2 separate regions of the Homo sapiens genome follow, and region 1 is linked to region 2. The links are contacts of gene promoters, found by promoter capture Hi-C in blood cells and fetal thymus (Javierre and others, 2016). All regions are on one chromosome and are shown on one strand. Each heading gives the region's core, a stretch centred on a gene start or on the middle of the fragment in contact. The rest is flanking DNA. Distances are from core to core; before and after follow the strand shown.

Region 1 (4,007 bases), core at 719-3,218, 180 kb before region 2:
ATTCTTCCCATGTTGAGATCTTTCCCAAAGGCAAAGATCATTTCCCTTTTTGGCCATGGAGCACTCTGATGGTAAGAATTAGTCCTCTCATCACCCACCACACTCAACCCGAATAGGAAATTTCCAAGAATGGGAACCATGTCTTTGGGCACTTAGGCGAGATTACTCAATCAAAAGAGTGAGACTCAGGGACTGAAACATTCAATCAAGGTTAAAAACAGATTAAAATGTGGCAGTTACCTTTTTTCCCCTGATATAGAATACGCACTGGAGTCACAGTTACCTTTTAGTAACTGATTTCCTTGAGTGAATAGTGTATCAGAAAATGGGACTTTTATGGTGGCAAAGAATTCAGAGGGCCTGGGGCACACAGATCTGGATTTGTATACCGATTTGCCACTTAACCAGCTATGTGACTGTGCAATTTACCAACCTCTCAGGGCCACATTTTTTCATCTGTCAAAAAGGTCAATATGGCCAGGTACGGTGGCTCACACCTCTAATCCCAGCACTTTGGGAGGCCGAAATGGGCAGATCACGAGGTCAGGAGTTCGAGACCAGCCTGACCAACATGGTGAAACCCCGTCTCTACTAAAAATACAAAAATTAGCCAGGTGTGGTGGCGTGCGCCTTTAATCCCAGCTACTCAGGAGGCCGAGGCAAGAGAATCGCTTGAACCCAGGAGGCGAAGGTTGCAGTGAGCCGAGATCGCACCACTGCACTCCAGCCTGGGAGTCAGAGAGAGACTCCGTCTCAAAACAAAACAAAACAAAACAAAGGTTGAATAATAATAATAGGACCTATATTGTAGACTTGTTGAGAGGATTAAATGAGATAATGTACGAAATGCCTTACTACAGAGTCTGGCACTTATTAAAGAAAGAGTTGATGTGGGCTGGGTGCCGTGGCTCACGTCTGTAATCCCAGCACTTTGCGGGGTTGGGGTAGGAAGATCCTTAGAGGCCAGGAGTTCGAGACCAGCCTGGGCAACAAGGCGAGACCCTCGTCTCTACAAAAAATATATAAATTATCCGGGTGTGGTGGCTCATGCCTATAGTCCTAGGTACTTGGGAGGCTGAGGTGGGAGGATACCTTGATTGCAGTGAGCTGTGATCTTGAGCCATTGCGCTCCAGCCTGGGCGACAGAAGGCGGCCGTATTTAAAAAAGAAAAAAGAAAGAAAGAAAGAAAAGAAAAGAAAAAAAGGGTCGTTGTGGAAAATTCTTGTGGGGAATTAAAGGGACCACGTGTGCGCGAAAGAGCTTGGCGAAGATAAGTACCTGGAGGCCAAGATGAGGCGGCGAGCCCTGCCTCCCTAGCAGTGTGGTCTCCTGGCTTAGGGTCAGTGCTTCGCACAAAAAAATCCACTGCCTCTCATGAGACCTTGAACTGCCAATGACCGCAGGTTGCCCAGACTCCCGAGTGAGGAAGGCGGCCAGGAGTCAACTAGGCTTCTTGCGGAAAAGCCCACTCTAAGAAGGCCTGGGGCATTCCGGCTCCAGGCAGGTAGCACCCGCGGGCCTCAGGCCCTTTCACTTACCCGGGAAACGTAACGGTCCTTAACGGCAGCCAATAACGGCTCCCAGCGGCCCAGGCACTGGCAAGGGCAGGCTGAAATCAAACCTCGGATTTTGGAACCTCCACGCCTGAAACCCTAAACCAGCATCGAACTACAACTCCCATCATGCCAGGCGGCCGCCCGGTTCCCAAGGGTCGGTCCCACCAACCTTGCGCCCCTTCTTTCCTCAAAGCGTGGCCGAATGCCTAGGCTTCCGGGTATCAGTGGCCCCGCCTCTTAATCCGACCGGAGCCGTCCCTCGTGATTCCTGGGTATTGTAGTCAGTTTCCTGGGAAAGAGTCGCTCCTAGTGGCAGCTCGCTTCGCCAGAAAAACTACAAAACCCAGAATGCAGCGCAAATTCCCCTTGTCCAATAGGAACCCCCCATGTAGTGGGGCGCGGAGCCCTGCTCTCGCAACTCAAGATGGCGGACGAGAGTGAGACAGCAGTGAAGCCGCCGGCACCTCCGCTGCCGCAGATGATGGAAGGGAACGGGAACGGCCATGAGCACTGCAGCGATTGCGAGAATGAGGAGGACAACAGCTACAACCGGGGGTAACGAAATCCTCGGAGTCCAATTCCCGTCCAGCCTCCCACAACCTGGGTCTCTGGGGTGCGGGGAAGTCACCGGGAGCTTAGTCTAGCCCCACCCTCATGTTCTTATTGGCTAAGTCACTAGGATTCTGCCTGGCGATTGGTTATTGCCTTTGTCATTTACCAAGGGTGGGTGCTCTGGATATTAAGGGCCGGAGACGTTCAGTACTTTTATTATATAAAAGTTCTATGCAGTGTTCCACTCGTGTGCTTCAGGCCATTCCTGGGAAAAGAGCATGTTGGACGATGGTTTTCGATGGTACAACACAGGACAGTCTAGTAACAGTACAGTTCAAAGGGAACGTTACTTATAGACGTGTTGTTTGAACAACGTGACTAGCAATAAACGAATCATAAAACATTTCGCAGCAGTTCACCCTCAGTGAGGAAACTCATCAGACTATACAAACTGTATGTATAATTATATTGTAAAATATCACTACCAGAGAATCCCAAAATATAAACTCACCTTATAAACCTATGTAATTAACGGTATGGTAATGCTTTGATTTACATAGTTTCCATTGCTCCAAATAATCCATAAGTATCCTGAACGATATATTAATATAATTAAGTCTTCGAACATCTTTGCCTTGTTACCTTTGCAGAGCAGCCCCAGGCTTCAAGAAATGAGCGATGTTGTTTCTTGGAGAGTATTTGGAATCCTCGGGCTCCATACTGCCTATCCTGTACTTTAGGGTCTTGCCATTAGTTACTATTTGTTCCTAGGGATGAAGAAACACACCAGGCATTTGAATGTTGAATTCTTTTCCCAAATTAGTTTTTACTTCTGTAAGCCACAGCTTATTCATCTTTCTTCACATGGTTAGTGCCTGGCACTGGCACTCACGCTGTCTCTCCCCATCTTCCTGTCTATATTTGTAGATATATTTTTAAACTGAAAGTCGTGAGAGATTTTTGGGTGTATAACTTGCTGAGTCTGAGGTAGTCTGATTTTCGTAGCCAGCTTGTTATTCGCAGTATTGGTGGCAGTGCAGATATAAAGGTATAAAGACCAAGGACTGCGTAGAAGAGATGGTCCCACAAGATTATAGTACATATTTTTATTGTATCCTTTCTATGTTTAGGTATGCTTAGATACACAAATACTTACCATTGTATTATAGTTGCCTGCAGTACTCAGTAACATGCAGCAGCCTATTGCTCCTAGGCTACAAACCTGTATAGCATGTTACTGTAATGTACACCATATAGCCTAGGCATTTAGTAGGCTATACCATCTAGATTTGTGTAAGTACACCCTATAATGTTGGCAAGGCAAAAATCACCTAACCATGCATTTCCCAGCACATATGCCTGACGTTCAGTGAAGCATGACTGTATTTAAGTGGTTTATAATCTGCTTGTGGTAAATCTTAGGTTAAAAGATCTAGCTTTTATGTTCTTCAGCCGGCATTAAAAATCACAGGAAGGGCCGGGCATGGTGGCTCATGCCTGTAATCCCAGTACTTTGGGAGGCAGATCACGAGGTCAGGAGATCGAGACCATCCTGGCTAACACTGTGAAATCCCATCTCTACTAAAAATACAAAAAATTTAGCCGGGCGTGGTGGCGGGCGCCTGTAGTCCCAACTACTCGGGAGGCTAAGGCAGGAGAATGGCGTGAACCCAGGAGGCAGAGCTTGCAGTGAGCTGAGATCACGCCACTGCACTCCAGCCTGGGCGACAGAGCGAGACTCCGACTCAAAAAAAAAAAAAAAAAAAAAAAATCACAGGAAGAAAGTAGAGGAATAGGAAGCTTGCCAAATTTAGTTTTTATAAGACTGTTCTGTTGCTGTAACTCACAACAGATCTAATGTAATAAAAGTCTTCTTTTGAAGTTTGATATTCCTAAAA
Region 2 (2,500 bases), core at 1-2,500:
GGCGTACCTGGACAATATTTTTGATGTGGGGGCGCTGCTGGAGGACACAGAGACCAAGAACGCTGTGCTGGAGCACATGGAGGAACTGCAGGAGCAAGTGGCGCTGGTGAGAGTGGGTCCTGACCCCAGCCCAGCACATCATAGGCCCACAGGGCACACGGGCCACAGGGCCACGCAAGCATGGGCACTGGGCAGCAGACAGTGTTATAATTGTGCATTGGAGGTGCTGCCTGCCTGGCCCCAGAGCCTGGCCTGAATCCAAAGCCTGAATCTGTTGGGTGTCTTTCTCAATGAGTGTGGGTGAGCACCCTCACTGACAGGCCCCTCCTCTACCCAGGCTCAGACCCCAGGTGAACTGAAATGGGTGCCTGGGGCCCCTCCCAGCTCAGTCTCCTCCTCTCCCTCCACCTCCCGCATCACTGGTACCTTGGTTTCCTCTCCTTATTTGCTTGGGTTCGAGTGCCAGGCTCGGCCCACCCTTGGCACCTGGGCTGAGCGGATCTGGGAGCCTCCCCCAGTCTTCCAGGCAGGCATGCCTGATGCCGCCCCCTCACCGGCGGTGCCAGTGCCGGGCTGCGGGTCGGGGCTCACCATGTGCTGGTGCTACAGCTGACAGAGCGGCTTCGGGACGCGGAGAACGAATCCATGGCCAAGATTGCAGAACTGGAAAAACAGCTAAGCCAGGCGCGCAAGGAGTTGGAGACCCTGCGGGTGAGGCTGGGGCGGGTGGTAGGCCAGGCGCCCAAGAACAGGCCAGCTGAGGCTTCTAGGCTTGACATCTCCCTCCACCCCGGGAAGAAGATGGAGGCTTGGTGCCAAGGAGCCTGCTGGTGGGCACTGACCCCTCCCGTGGGGTTCGTAGGAGCGCTTCAGCGAATCGACCGCCATGGGGCCCTCCAGGCGTCCCCCAGAGCCTGAGAAAGCGCCTCCCGCTGCCCCGACGCGGCCCTCGGCCCTGGAGCTGAAGGTGGAGGAGCTGGAGGAGAAGGGGTTAATCCGTATTCTGCGGGGGCCGGGGGATGCTGTCTCCATCGAGATCCTCCCCGTCGCTGTGGCAACTCCGAGCGGCGGTGATGCTCCGACTCCGGGGGTGCCGACCGGCTCCCCCAGCCCAGGTGCGCAGGAGCTTCAGGCTGGCGGGGATGCGGGGCAGGGTCTGGAGGGGAGCCCAGGGGCATCTGTGGCGGGCAGAGTTGGGCGAGGGAGGTTTGGATTGTAGGCTCGGCTCAGGTAGGAGCGCATGCGTAGAGCGGAGAGGCGGAGAGGGGCCCACCCAAGTCAAGGAGCTGACTCGCGCCTCCCCCACGCCGCGCCCTCGCTGGCTCAGATCTCGCACCTGCAGCAGAGCCGGCTCCCGGAGCAGCGCCACCGCCGCCGCCCCCACTGCCCGGCCTCCCCTCCCCGCAGGAAGCCCCGCCCTCTGCGCCCCCACAGGCCCCGCCTCTCCCTGGCAGCCCGGAGCCCCCGCCTGCGCCGCCGCTGCCCGGAGACCTGCCGCCCCCACCCCCGCCACCGCCACCACCTCCGGGCACTGACGGGCCGGTGCCTCCGCCGCCGCCGCCGCCGCCGCCGCCTCCCGGAGGTCCTCCTGATGCCCTAGGAAGACGCGACTCAGAATTGGGCCCAGGTGAGTGGAGTGGACCACCTTGGGCCCGGGGCTGGGGGGAGATGGAGGGAGGGGCCTGGGCCTCAGTGTCCTCCAGGGTCCTCTGCCTGGGGGCCTCCTGCTGCCTCCTGGCTGCCCCATCAGCCCTCCCTGGGCCCAGGTTCCCTCCAGTAGTACCCCCAGTGCTCACCACTGCCCCCAAACCCCCGTCCCAGGAGTGAAGGCCAAGAAGCCCATCCAGACTAAGTTCCGAATGCCACTCTTGAACTGGGTGGCACTGAAACCCAGCCAGATCACCGGCACTGTCTTCACAGAGCTCAATGATGAGAAGGTGCTGCAGGTGAGTGGCCCTGCCTGGCTCCCCATGTGGGCACCGGAGGAAGAGGGGAGTTGCCTGGATCAGGCTGGGCCCTGGGGGTAGTCATTTTCTCCAAGCCATTTCACAGATGAGGAGGGGGAGGCCCAGGGATGGGCATTAAGCCAGACTGGACCAATACCTCTAACAGGCAGAATCCTGCTTTCCCAAACGCCTTCCCCTCCATCCCTGCAGAGGGGTGCCTCCCCTCACCCCACTTCTTCTGCCTCCAGGCCTCTTTCCTTCCACTTTCCCACAGGCAGCCAAGGCTTCAGCCCTCCTGATTCCACTTCCAGTTTTCCAAAAGGATGTATTCTCTTGCCTCTAGGCCATTGTTCCATTCTGTTTCCTCTGCCTGGAATGTCTTTTCCTTTCTCCTTTTTACCGCTGGCCAGTTCAGCTCTTCCTTTAGCTCTTGTGGCCCCAAGTCTGGATCCCCCGGGTTAGGCGGCCCTCCTCCTCCAGGCTCCCTGTGCTTCCCCTGTGCCTCCCATCAGGGCCTGTGGTCAGGCTGGGTTACTGGTTCTCTGCTGGTGGCC

Evidence for each region. The method cuts DNA at HindIII sites, captures the fragments that hold promoters and counts their contacts. A CHiCAGO score of 5 or more calls a contact.
Region 1: the fragment with the promoter of NMT1 here is called in contact with the fragment with the promoter of FMNL1-AS1 in region 2 in 1 of 17 cell types (neutrophils); the score reaches 5.4 in neutrophils.

The regions. Positions count from the first base shown.
Region 1 is chr17:45,059,349-45,063,355 of GRCh38, forward strand. It overlaps NMT1 (N-myristoyltransferase 1), which reads left to right and starts at 1,969. Exons shown (of 12, transcript NM_021079.5): 1 at 1,969-2,112. The coding sequence starts at 1,982. It also overlaps a transcript of DCAKD not described here. RefSeq lists enhancers at 749-1,740, 1,600-1,779, 1,741-2,732, 1,880-2,239, 2,093-2,387 and 1 more. The HindIII fragment of the contact is 9,198 bases long and covers 1-3,907 here.
Region 2 is chr17:45,240,520-45,243,019 of GRCh38, forward strand. FMNL1-AS1 (FMNL1 antisense RNA 1) reads right to left here and starts at 1,251. Exons shown (of 3, transcript NR_186808.1): 1 at 592-1,251; 2 at 1-85. FMNL1 (formin like 1) reads left to right here. Exons shown (of 27, transcript NM_005892.4): 12 at 1-106; 13 at 610-711; 14 at 863-1,115; 15 at 1,328-1,627; 16 at 1,822-1,946. RefSeq lists an enhancer at 643-1,361. The HindIII fragment of the contact is 17,531 bases long and covers 1-2,500 here.